Linked DNA regions of Homo sapiens: regions 2 and 3 are each linked to region 1. The links are contacts of gene promoters, found by promoter capture Hi-C in blood cells and fetal thymus (Javierre and others, 2016). All regions are on one chromosome and are shown on one strand. Each heading gives the region's core, a stretch centred on a gene start or on the middle of the fragment in contact. The rest is flanking DNA. Distances are from core to core; before and after follow the strand shown.

What was found. The method cuts DNA at HindIII sites, captures the fragments that hold promoters and counts their contacts. A CHiCAGO score of 5 or more calls a contact.
Region 2: a contact is called between a fragment that was not itself captured here and the fragment with the promoter of MCM9 in region 1, in 3 of 17 cell types (non-activated CD4 T cells, total CD4 T cells and naive CD4 T cells). The highest score is 6.2, in non-activated CD4 T cells.
Region 3: a fragment that was not itself captured here is called in contact with the fragment with the promoter of MCM9 in region 1 in 1 of 17 cell types (total CD4 T cells); the score reaches 5.6 in total CD4 T cells.

What each region holds. Positions count from the first base shown.
Region 1 is chr6:118,933,747-118,937,127 of GRCh38, reverse strand. It overlaps MCM9 (minichromosome maintenance 9 homologous recombination repair factor), which reads left to right and starts at 1,969. Exons shown (of 14, transcript NM_017696.3): 1 at 1,969-2,237. LOC124901389 (a long non-coding RNA gene) reads right to left here and starts at 2,213. Exons shown (of 2, transcript XR_007059729.1): 1 at 2,138-2,213. RefSeq lists silencers at 1,791-2,220, 2,471-2,720. The HindIII fragment of the contact is 20,540 bases long and covers 1-3,381 here.
Region 2 is chr6:118,560,707-118,563,938 of GRCh38, reverse strand. All of the region lies in intron 3 of CEP85L (centrosomal protein 85L), which reads left to right. It overlaps PLN (phospholamban), which reads right to left. Exons shown (of 2, transcript NM_002667.5): 2 at 2,223-3,232. Among named protein-coding and RNA genes, the nearest start is that of PLN, 14 kb to the right of the region's middle. The HindIII fragment of the contact is 2,590 bases long and covers 143-2,732 here.
Region 3 is chr6:118,541,554-118,544,949 of GRCh38, reverse strand. The region is part of intron 3 of CEP85L (centrosomal protein 85L); the gene reads left to right. Among named protein-coding and RNA genes, the nearest start is that of PLN, 5.0 kb to the left of the region's middle. The HindIII fragment of the contact is 2,464 bases long and covers 182-2,645 here.

The DNA.
Region 1 (3,381 bases), core at 720-3,219:
AGAATGAGTGAGGGGGAAGTGCCAGACACTTTCAAAAAACCTGATCTCATGAGAACTCACTATCATGAGAAGAGCAAGGGGGAAGTTCGCCCCATGATTCAATCACCTCCCACCAGACTCCTGGGGATTACAATTTAAGGTGAGATTTGGGTGGGGACACACAGCCAAACCATATCACCCAGCTACTTAGGGGGCTGAGGTAGGAGGATTGCTTGAACCTGGCAGACAGAGGTTGCAGTGGGCCATGATCACACCACTGCACTCCAGCCTGAGCAACAGAGCAAGAACCTGTAACAACAACAACAAAACCCCCAATCATATTTTTACACACTATCTGACATAGTTTGAGTATTTCTCCCTTCCAAATCTCATCTTAAAATCTGATCCCAAGTGTGGGGCCTAGTTGGGGGTGTCTGGGTCACAGGGGCAGATCCTTCAGGAAAACTTAGTGCTGCCATTGCATAATGAGTTCTCATTCTGTTAGTTGCCTCCAGAGCTGATTGTTAAAAAGAGCCTGACCACTACCTCCCCTTTCTCTTGCTTCTCTTCTGGCCATGTGATCTGCACAGGCAGCCTCCCCTTCACTGAGTGGAAGCAGCCTGAAGCCCTCACCAGAAGCAGCCTGCAGAAGTGTGAGCCAAATAAACCTCTTTTATTTGTAAATTATTCAGTCTCAGGCATTCCTTTTTAGCAACACAGACTAAGACACTATCAAAGAACAACTGAAAATTTAAAATGTCATTTACATAATATCAAGAAGTATATTTTTCCCCCATCCTTAGATTTATGGATAAATCTGACATAGGGTGATATGGTTTGGCTGTGTCCCTGCCCAAACCTCATCTTGAACTGTAGTTACCATAATCCCCAGGTGTTGTGGGAGGGACCCGGTGGGAGGTAACTGAATCATGGGGGTGGTTATTCCCATGCTGTTCTCTGATAGTGAGTGAGGTATCACAAGATCTGATGGTTTTCTAAGGGGCTTTTCCCTCCTTGCTCCTCACTTCTCCTTCCTGCAGCCCTGTGAAGAAGGAGGTTTGCTCCCGCTTCTGCCATGATTTTAAGTTTCCTGAAGTCTCCCCAGCCATGCTGAACTGTAAGTCAATTAAACGTCTTTCCTTTATAAATTACTCAGTCCCAGGTATGTCTTTATTAGCACTGTGAAAATGGACTATATAAGACTAGACCTGACAAAAGATCAAAACATTTGCTGAGTGAAATAACACCTAAATAAATGAAGAGGCTTACTTTAAGGGTCATTACTAAATATTGTTAACATGTAAATTATTCTTACATGGATCTATAGACGAAATGTAACCAATCACAATCCCAACTTTTTAAAGTGACAAGCTGATTTTAACATTCATATGAAAACCCAAGGGACTAGATGAGCCAGAACATTTTTGAAAAATAACAAAAAATTGGAGGCCAAACACGATCTGATTTTAAGACTCTTACGAATCTACAGGAATCAAGACAATGTGGTATTTTTGTAGAGAGAAATATAATAAATTGTCGGAACAGAATAGAAAGTCTAAGAATAGACCCACAACTGATGCTTTAGGGACAACTGATTTTAAACATAGGTGCAAAAGCTATTCAGTGAGAAAAAGAAAGCTCTCTAAACAAATGACACTATTCACATACAAAAAAATGACCTAAGATCCATACTTTGCACCACAGACAAAAATTAGCTCTAATTGGATCACAGACCTCAATATAAAACCTAAAATTCTAAAACTTGTGTCAGAAAACACAGAAGAGATCCTCTGTGGCCTTGGGTTAGGCAAATTCCTTGGACAGACAAAAAACAAACCCTAAGATCCGATCTGAGCCGCCGCACAACCCTGCTCTGGCCACTTAGCCTGAGGTCACTGCTCGGGTCCCGCCCCTCTCCCCGCCCGGGACCCTCCTGGCTCCGCCCCAATCCGCCCGCTCCGCTCCACCCCGCCCCGCTGCCTCGTCTCCATCCGGAAGAGCCGCCGGGGCAGGGAAGTTGAGGCGGTGCGCGGCCCGGCGTCGGTCGAGAGCGCAGGCCCGGCAGAGCCGCAGGCGCTAGGCCGCCCGACACAGCCCGCGCGTCCCCGCGGCCGGTGGCGCCTCGAGCGGCCACGTGCACGCGCGCACTCCGCCTCACCAGCCTTCTTGCGCCGGAGACGAACCCGCTGCCTGGCTGGAGCTCTCTGGGCCCTTCGGCCTCGGGAGCAACGCGTTCCCGGCGACTTCTGACACAGCCAGTAAGTGATAGCCGCCTCCTCCTTTCGCGGTTATGTTTTTCTCCAGTTCGTCCCAAGTCTCGTTCCCGTCTCATTACTTCAAAAACTATTCAACTCCGGGACCGGACAGGCACGGGAGCTGCCCGGGAGAAGAGCCCCAGAAGTCTCAGAGACTGCCAAGGTGTTGTGGGGCAGGGGCTGCGTGCAAAGACCCTGTGAATTAGAAAGTTTGGAAAGCATGCCTCCAAAACCGAGCGACTCCACGTTTGCCAGGCGCCCCTGGGGCAGCCGAGCGGCCCGGAGGCGCGAAATGGCGCGCCCCCGCAGTGAGAGGGGCGGAGGGAGTGGGGCGGGGCCGAGGGCGCGCGTCCCGCCAGCCCGCGCGGAGGGGGCGGGGCTCCCGGCAGGTGCAGGCGGGCGGGGCGGGGCTGCCGCGATTCCCGGAGACAGCTGGGGGATGCCAGTGCAGTTAGGCACTCTCCTGTCTTCTTTTCGACGCTTCGCTGTGGTCAAGAGGACAAAGTAAAGCAAATGATTTTATTTTGACCCCAAATATTCAATAAGAAAAGGAAAGAGAACTTGAAAGTTGTGAAATGACCCTTCTCAAAACAAAAAGTCCCTCCAGTGTCTATCTGGGTGGGTAGTAGGTACGTTTATTGATTTAGCAAACTGCTGATAACACAGTTGATTAGTCAGTTTTGCATAGATGTTGAAAGGGAATGAATAACGATGGTCCATATAACCATAGAAATGCTAGCCTAACTAGGCAAAATTTAATCTGACCTTAATTTGAACGTTGAATTCTGCTGCTGCCCTTTTCCTGCCTTGTGTGGAGCTGTTTTTCAAATTGCTAAATTTGTGGCTCTAAACTTAATATGCTTTAATAGAATCATAGTGATTCTCTTGTAGCCACTGTTGGGAGTCCAGATTTTTTTTTTTTTTTTTTTGGGCAAAGTCCACATTGTGGAGATATTCCTTCCCAAGTGCTTTTTCTGCTTTACACTTGGCTGAATTTATATTGCTTAACCAAAAACAAATTACCGTGGAGGCCGTAATTTATTTCCACTCATTGTTTTGGATATACATTTACTCATTCTTACTCTCACTCTGGCCTCCTATAGTGGTCAGGATTCTTGACCTAACTGCTATATGTACTTCTTAAACG
Region 2 (3,232 bases), core at 188-2,687, 370 kb after region 1:
CAGGTAAAGAAAACTAGACAAACTAAGTTGTAATCATTAAATGACTGCTTCCCTTCTAATTTCCTCCTTAGAAAACTACAGAAAAAAGTTGTTAAATACCTTCTTGGAGCCTCCAAGTAGTATTATCTTTATTTTAAAAGCTTTCATCATAGTTGTTTCTTAAAAGCCTCTTTGAAACATTGACTTCTGGCCAGGCACTGTAGCGCACGCCTGTAATCCCAGCAATTTGGGAGGCCAAGGCAGGAGAATTGCCTGAGTCCAGGAGTTTGAGACTAGCCTGGGCAACATGGCCAGACCCCGTCTCTAAAAAGGAAAAAAGATAAAAATCATAGAAACACTGATTTTCTTTTAGTCTAATTTTTACATAAAGAGAAGAACCTTAATAAGGACCAGGCCGTCTGATAAATTGTGATTTGCAAGCACAACTCCTAAACACTCACCATGAAAAAACAATATTTTTACAACTAAGAAAAGGAATTTGGCTGAAAGTCATAATCTAATAAAACCTTAGATTTATATGTTATAGAATTCTGTAGCTTTCACAGTATTTTATCTCATTTGATTCTCACAGCTCCCCACTCCCCAGGTTAATTTGTAACATTGAAGGTTTGCTCTTCCTAGGACTTAGTCCAGAATAATTATTGAGCCAGACACACATTCTTATGTGTGTGTTGTTCCTTGATTTCCATGGTTTTCTGCTAAATCATCAAGAGTGCAGGAGTGTAGTACTCTGAATCATTTTCCTTTGTGAATGAAAAGAAGCCATTATGCCCTCAGATGGTTTATGACAGAAGGCTCCATGTGTAATGCCTACTGCTAGTCTTTGACTCTTTCCTCGGTAGTACATCACACTTATGCTACCCACCCCCTGCAACCCCTAAGCTGCCTGACTCTATAGGGACTATGACAGAGGAGGAAAAACAGTCTGGTCTTTTTGGGAAGACTCCTTCCCTTTCCATGGCCCCCTTGAGTTCCTTTTCTTGGGGAAGGTAGGGTGGAAGGGATGGAGGATAAACACTTCTACACGTAACGGCAGTATCCATTTGGATTCCTGTAAGCCCACGATGGATCTCCCAGACAGTAGTGAAATAATAGTAGCCTCTTTATTGATGAAGTTGTTTATCCTTTTTTCCCTAGGATGTTTCTGAACTTCAGGTGGCAGTCATTAAAAAGATGAAATTTTGTGCCTATTTAGTCATAAGGGTGTTTGAACAGTTATGGTATTGGCACCTATACATATTTTACTGGAGATTTTCCCTTGTATAAACAAAAAATTTGGACCAAGCATGGTAGCTCACCCCTGTAATCCCAACACTTTGGGAGGCTGATGGGGGGTGGATAGCTTGAGGATAGGAGTTTGGGACCAGCCTGGGCAATGAGACCCCATCTCTACAAAAAATAAAAAGAATTAGCCATATATGGTGATGTGCCCCTGTAGTGCCAGCTACTTGGGAACCAAGGTTGGAGAATCCTTTGCACCCCAAGAGTTCAAGGCTGCAGTGTGCAATGATCATGTGACTGCATTCCAGCCTGCATGACAGAGTAACACCCTGTCTCTTGATTTAAAAAAAAAAAATTGATAAAATGAGTTAAAGTAAAATGACTTGTTTTTTGTCTAACATGAAATAATAATGAAAAAGTTTTATTTATAACTTGAGAGTGTTTAAAGTATTCTGTTACGTCCTGTGAACAGAAAGTTTTCTTATTTTTATTCTTATTTTTGTACCCTGTTCTGGCTTTAATTTTTTAACTGTTTGAGATAATTTATATATTCAAAGATGTGAACACTATGACACTCCCTATATTAGGATATGACACATTCATTAGGTAGTTAAAGAGGACTTTTATATACCTGTTTTAATGAATAAAATTAGTAATGTGTTTCACTTTTTTCATCTGTCAAGTTTTCTATGTAATATTAGCATAAAATTTCTGGACATTTTGAAGTGTGCTGTTACTTAGCAGAAGAGCAGATCTTTTCTGAAAATTTATTATAGTCCTACTTTGCCAGAAGTCTCAAAAATAATCAAAAGATAAATAATCGCTATGTAGTAGCAATTTGTTATCTTATATACGTCTGCCCTCTTGTGTGTCTGGACTTGGGCGTCTTGATTTTGTTTTATTTGGGGAAAGTCACCAAAAAAACCCCTATAAAATTAAAACTATAATTAGAGCGTTTTATCGTTAGTATCAATTGTAAGTGTATTATAGAGCAGCCCCACTGAGTTTTCAAGAACATTCATTTTAATATAGTGATTCTGATTTGCATTAAACAAATATATATTCTTAACCAATTAAAATATAAAAGGCAACATTAAGCATTTTAAAATTGTTTTTAGTGCCCTGTAAATTAAGATAAGAACTTATTCTATAGTAGAACATATTTGAGCATTTAGTATATTAAATTTTAAAAATAAATTGTTTTCTTATATCTTATTCTTTACACTTTATGATGAAGAATAATTATTTAAAGAGTTTATTCTACTTTATAATTTGAGTTATAGTATTCTGTAATCCTCACAGAATAAGATTTTAATTTCTATCAAAGAATGAAGAACAAAAAAATTAGTTATTTCTGTTTACTGAGAAAAATATTGTAACAAACAGTGTAATCAAAGGAATATGACTAATCAGTTCAAATTTTCCACTTGTTTTTAAGACTAGGGATACTTTCTGTATTGGTAATTTACTAAAACCAGTGAGGTGAGTGTATCACCTGTTGTTTATAAGCTTTCTACTTGTTTTTAGGAATTTCCAGCTTGTAGATGAGGCGTCACTTAAGAAATCTCTGCCCTTCTGTTCTTCAGATATCCCTGAACCAAACACTTTCCACTCCCCATCTCTAGTATCTCTCATGGGTTCAGAAAATTTAATAGTGTCTCCTTCACTATTGAGTTAGCAACACTTGTGTAAGAAACCAAGGTCAATATTGATGTTACATATTCTTTTAGTAACCATGTTTTAGAAGATATGGTTAATTACACATCCTCTACTCTTTTAATAATAGTTATATTAGTAACATGTCTTCAACTGAAATTAAAATTGTTGGATTATGCAGTATAGGTGTAAACTATTTTAGACTTAATTTTAAACTTTAGTCAACTTAAATTACCAAAGTTTGGTGAATATATTTTCCAGCACTCAATTTTACTTCAGTTGTTTTATGAGTTATTGGAAGATGTTCTGAAATGGTCAGAGGAGAAATTGAAAATTTATTCATCAAGAAAATAAT
Region 3 (3,396 bases), core at 164-2,663, 390 kb after region 1:
CGTAGGGAAGGACTGGTTCAAAAAACATCTAAGCAAAACTGCGAATAAGAATTAGTGGTCTGAGATTGAGAGGATGGAAATTCTCTCCATAGGGCAATAGGGAAAAGAAAATAAGATTTACTCATCAACTGGAGTTGGGGGGCTGTTGATATAACCCAGTGATAAAGTAACCTATAAAGCTTAGGGGTCATTTGGGGGAGGTAGGTTCACTTTTCACTTGATTTGCCAGATAACCTGGAGACCCAAACATTTTATTTTTTCATAAATATCTGAATTCTGGGCAAATTCTCTTTCCTCATCTTGATGAGGGGTGGAGAAGAGCATTGACATTAAGAGAGGCCAGATGGATTAAGAAAAGGACTCATATAGGTCTACATAAATTTTGGAAAGTTATTAAACATTCTAAGTGATAGAAATGCTATAGCATGCTACGTGGCTTCAAGGAAATTATGGTTTATCAGTATACAAATAATATGGAAATGAAAATTTAACATTTAGAAGGTAACCACTAGTGCAAGATAACACCAGGAGAAAAAGAAATTCCCAATTGAGAGTCAAATGAGCACGTGTAATAATAAGCAGTATGACTTCTAAGAGAAGTGCATGTTTTGTACAAAGGAAACGGACAGAACCAAAGCCAAAAATAACAAAGGGAAACACATACATCACAAAACAAATTTAACAACAAAAACCAACCCTTAGGTCTCCAAATACTTGCTTCAAAATTCTATAGGGTCCCGATCATGATGCTGTTACATTGTTAAGAAGGTTCTATTTCAATTTAATGATTGTAGTATTTCTCCAGACATATTAAATTTCTTATCTTTGTGGTTGATATCTCAGCCCTTTGAGCTCCTCGCATTCGCAAACTTTGTGGTGGCACTATCACTGATTTTGATACAAAATTGAAATTGGAGGCTCATACCTTTTCTGTCTTCTGCCAGACTCCCCATTCACTTAGAAACCAAATGCAGATTGTGAAATATGTCTTTGTTCTCATAGCCTGACCAACTCTCCTCTTAACTTTCATAGACGTTTATTAACTAGTTTTTCTACCCTTCGTTGTGACTCTTTCCTACTCAGTTTTTACTCTGATATCCAAGTGCACATTTGATTGTCATTCACATGCTGAGAACTTTTTATTGATTTCTCTTTCGAGATGAAAAACCCACTCTTTACAGAATTACATAAAACATCGTTCCTGATCTGTCCATTGCCATGTATGCCTACCATAACGATTTGACAACTCTGCCATTATATGTTATTTCTTCTATCCGAATTATTTTCCTTACTGTCTTGTTCTTATAGAACTCCTTCATTATTCAGAAGTAGGTGGGGAGAAGCCCTGTTTTGCTTGTTCTTAATTTCTAATTATACAAGTAATAAGTGAATATCTCTTATAATTCAGAAAAGTCAGATAAATCTGAAGTTGGTGGGGGACTTTTTATATTATATAGGTCTATTTATTTTCCTTGCCATAAACTTCATGAATAGAGACTGATTGATTTTTTTAAGCTCTACACACTGTTTATCCCTTAGAAGGCTCAATAAGATATTTTTATACTTAATGGATATTTAGAATATTATTTTTCTATTACAAGTGAACTCTTAAAAAGGATAAGTTGAAAGAAGAGAGAATAAAGGCCCTCAGAAACTTAGATAAACTAATTTTCTTTGTCCCTAATGATTGCCTCTGAAAAGTTGAGATTTTTCTTGCACTTAATTCTTTAACTTGTTCACACTTTGACGTGTGTGTAACATCAAAAAACAATTTCAACAAATTGAGTTTAATTAATTGGCTTTGATTAATGATTCATGAATTGGGCAGTGTCTCTATAAAAATAGGCCATCAGATGAGCTAAGTGGAGGAGGTGGGCTTTCTAGGCAGAAAGAGGCTAAAGAAAGAAGGAACAAAAAGTGAATTGGTTATTGTAAGTTACTTTCCTTATAAGGTTAAAACAGACTTCTTTATCATGCTAATTCAGGTAAACTGGGCCCTTTCTGATTGGTTGCTGTGAATATCCTGTTTTTTTTTTTTTTTTTTTTTTTGGGAAAACTTGGTGATGTTGAAGTTCAGTTTGGTTATGTGGCTCCTAGCAGGAGTGGCTCCATTCTTGTTTGGTCTGGTCTGTTAAGACTCAGCCCAAAACAAACCAGAGTGACTGCATTGTGGTTTGGCGTGGGCTATTAAGTCTCAGTCCAAAACAATGGCATTCCATAGTTTTGTGTAACCATAATATAAGAGATTTTTGGAGTGGTTGAAGGTTGGTCAAGGAATATTAATGAGGAGTTGAATTGGAACTGTCATTCTCATTTTTTTGTCCTCTCTCTACCTTACTCTATGATTTTCAGAAAATGAATCTTTCTGTACTGTAGTTTTCTCGTAAATAAATGGAAGGCAGATCGAATTAATTTCTAAAGTCTCTTTGAAGCCCAAATGTTCTGATTATACTAAACTAGCTTGAAAAATGTGGTTATTTTGAAAGTAGCTATTAATTTTAGCTAATTTTGTTAAACATGTAAATTTCACAAGAAGCCAGTTCTTAATTCATTTCTTTAAACTACTGGTTTACTGGTTGTCAGGCACTCTATTAGGTAAGGAATGCACTTAAAAAAAAAGTCCTTATCTTCAGGCATGTTAAGCTTTTAAAAACTCTAAAAAACCCTAAAACATTACCTGTTCATTGGAGAATAATTTTAAATATGCTTGGGCATTTTTGTGTGCTGTTTATTAAAAATATATGTTACAAATTTTAATGTCTTATTTTTACTATGTAAATGTGAGTTTGGCATATAATACACCATAATTTGTGAATTTTCTTATTGAATATCAGGGGATATAATTTTTGCCATTATAAACCTTAAAAAACAACACTGTGATTCCATCTATGTAAATAAATCTGTTAAATTCTCTTTTTTCTCTTGGTTCTGTAAACTTGTTATTCCTAAACATTAGTTCATGTAAGGCTGATCAGGCTTGTAAATGAATTTGATTTGTTTTTGAAATGTAATAATTTTCAAGATTTGGTCAGTTACATTTCCTTATAATTAGAGAAACTTCTTTGAGAAAATGAGCTAAAATTATACATTTTTGGGGTGAGAATTAAACTCTGAATTAGTAAACATCCTGAGTGACATGACTGTACCAACTAAGCAACTAAAGAAATTGCACTTTTAGTTAAGATCAAGTGGCTTTTTGATCAGTGCTCCTGCTCTAAGGATGAGGGAGGTAATCCTACCTTAATGTAGATCTGAGCTTTTATTTAAAGACTTTGATAATATCAACATTTAAGATAGGTTCTTGATTGCTTCAGGTGGAGAACCTCTAAAACATAATGGCTTCTATGCTTCAGTTACACAGTTAGCCCTCTTTAAGTTTGTAGAGTAAAATTAGAA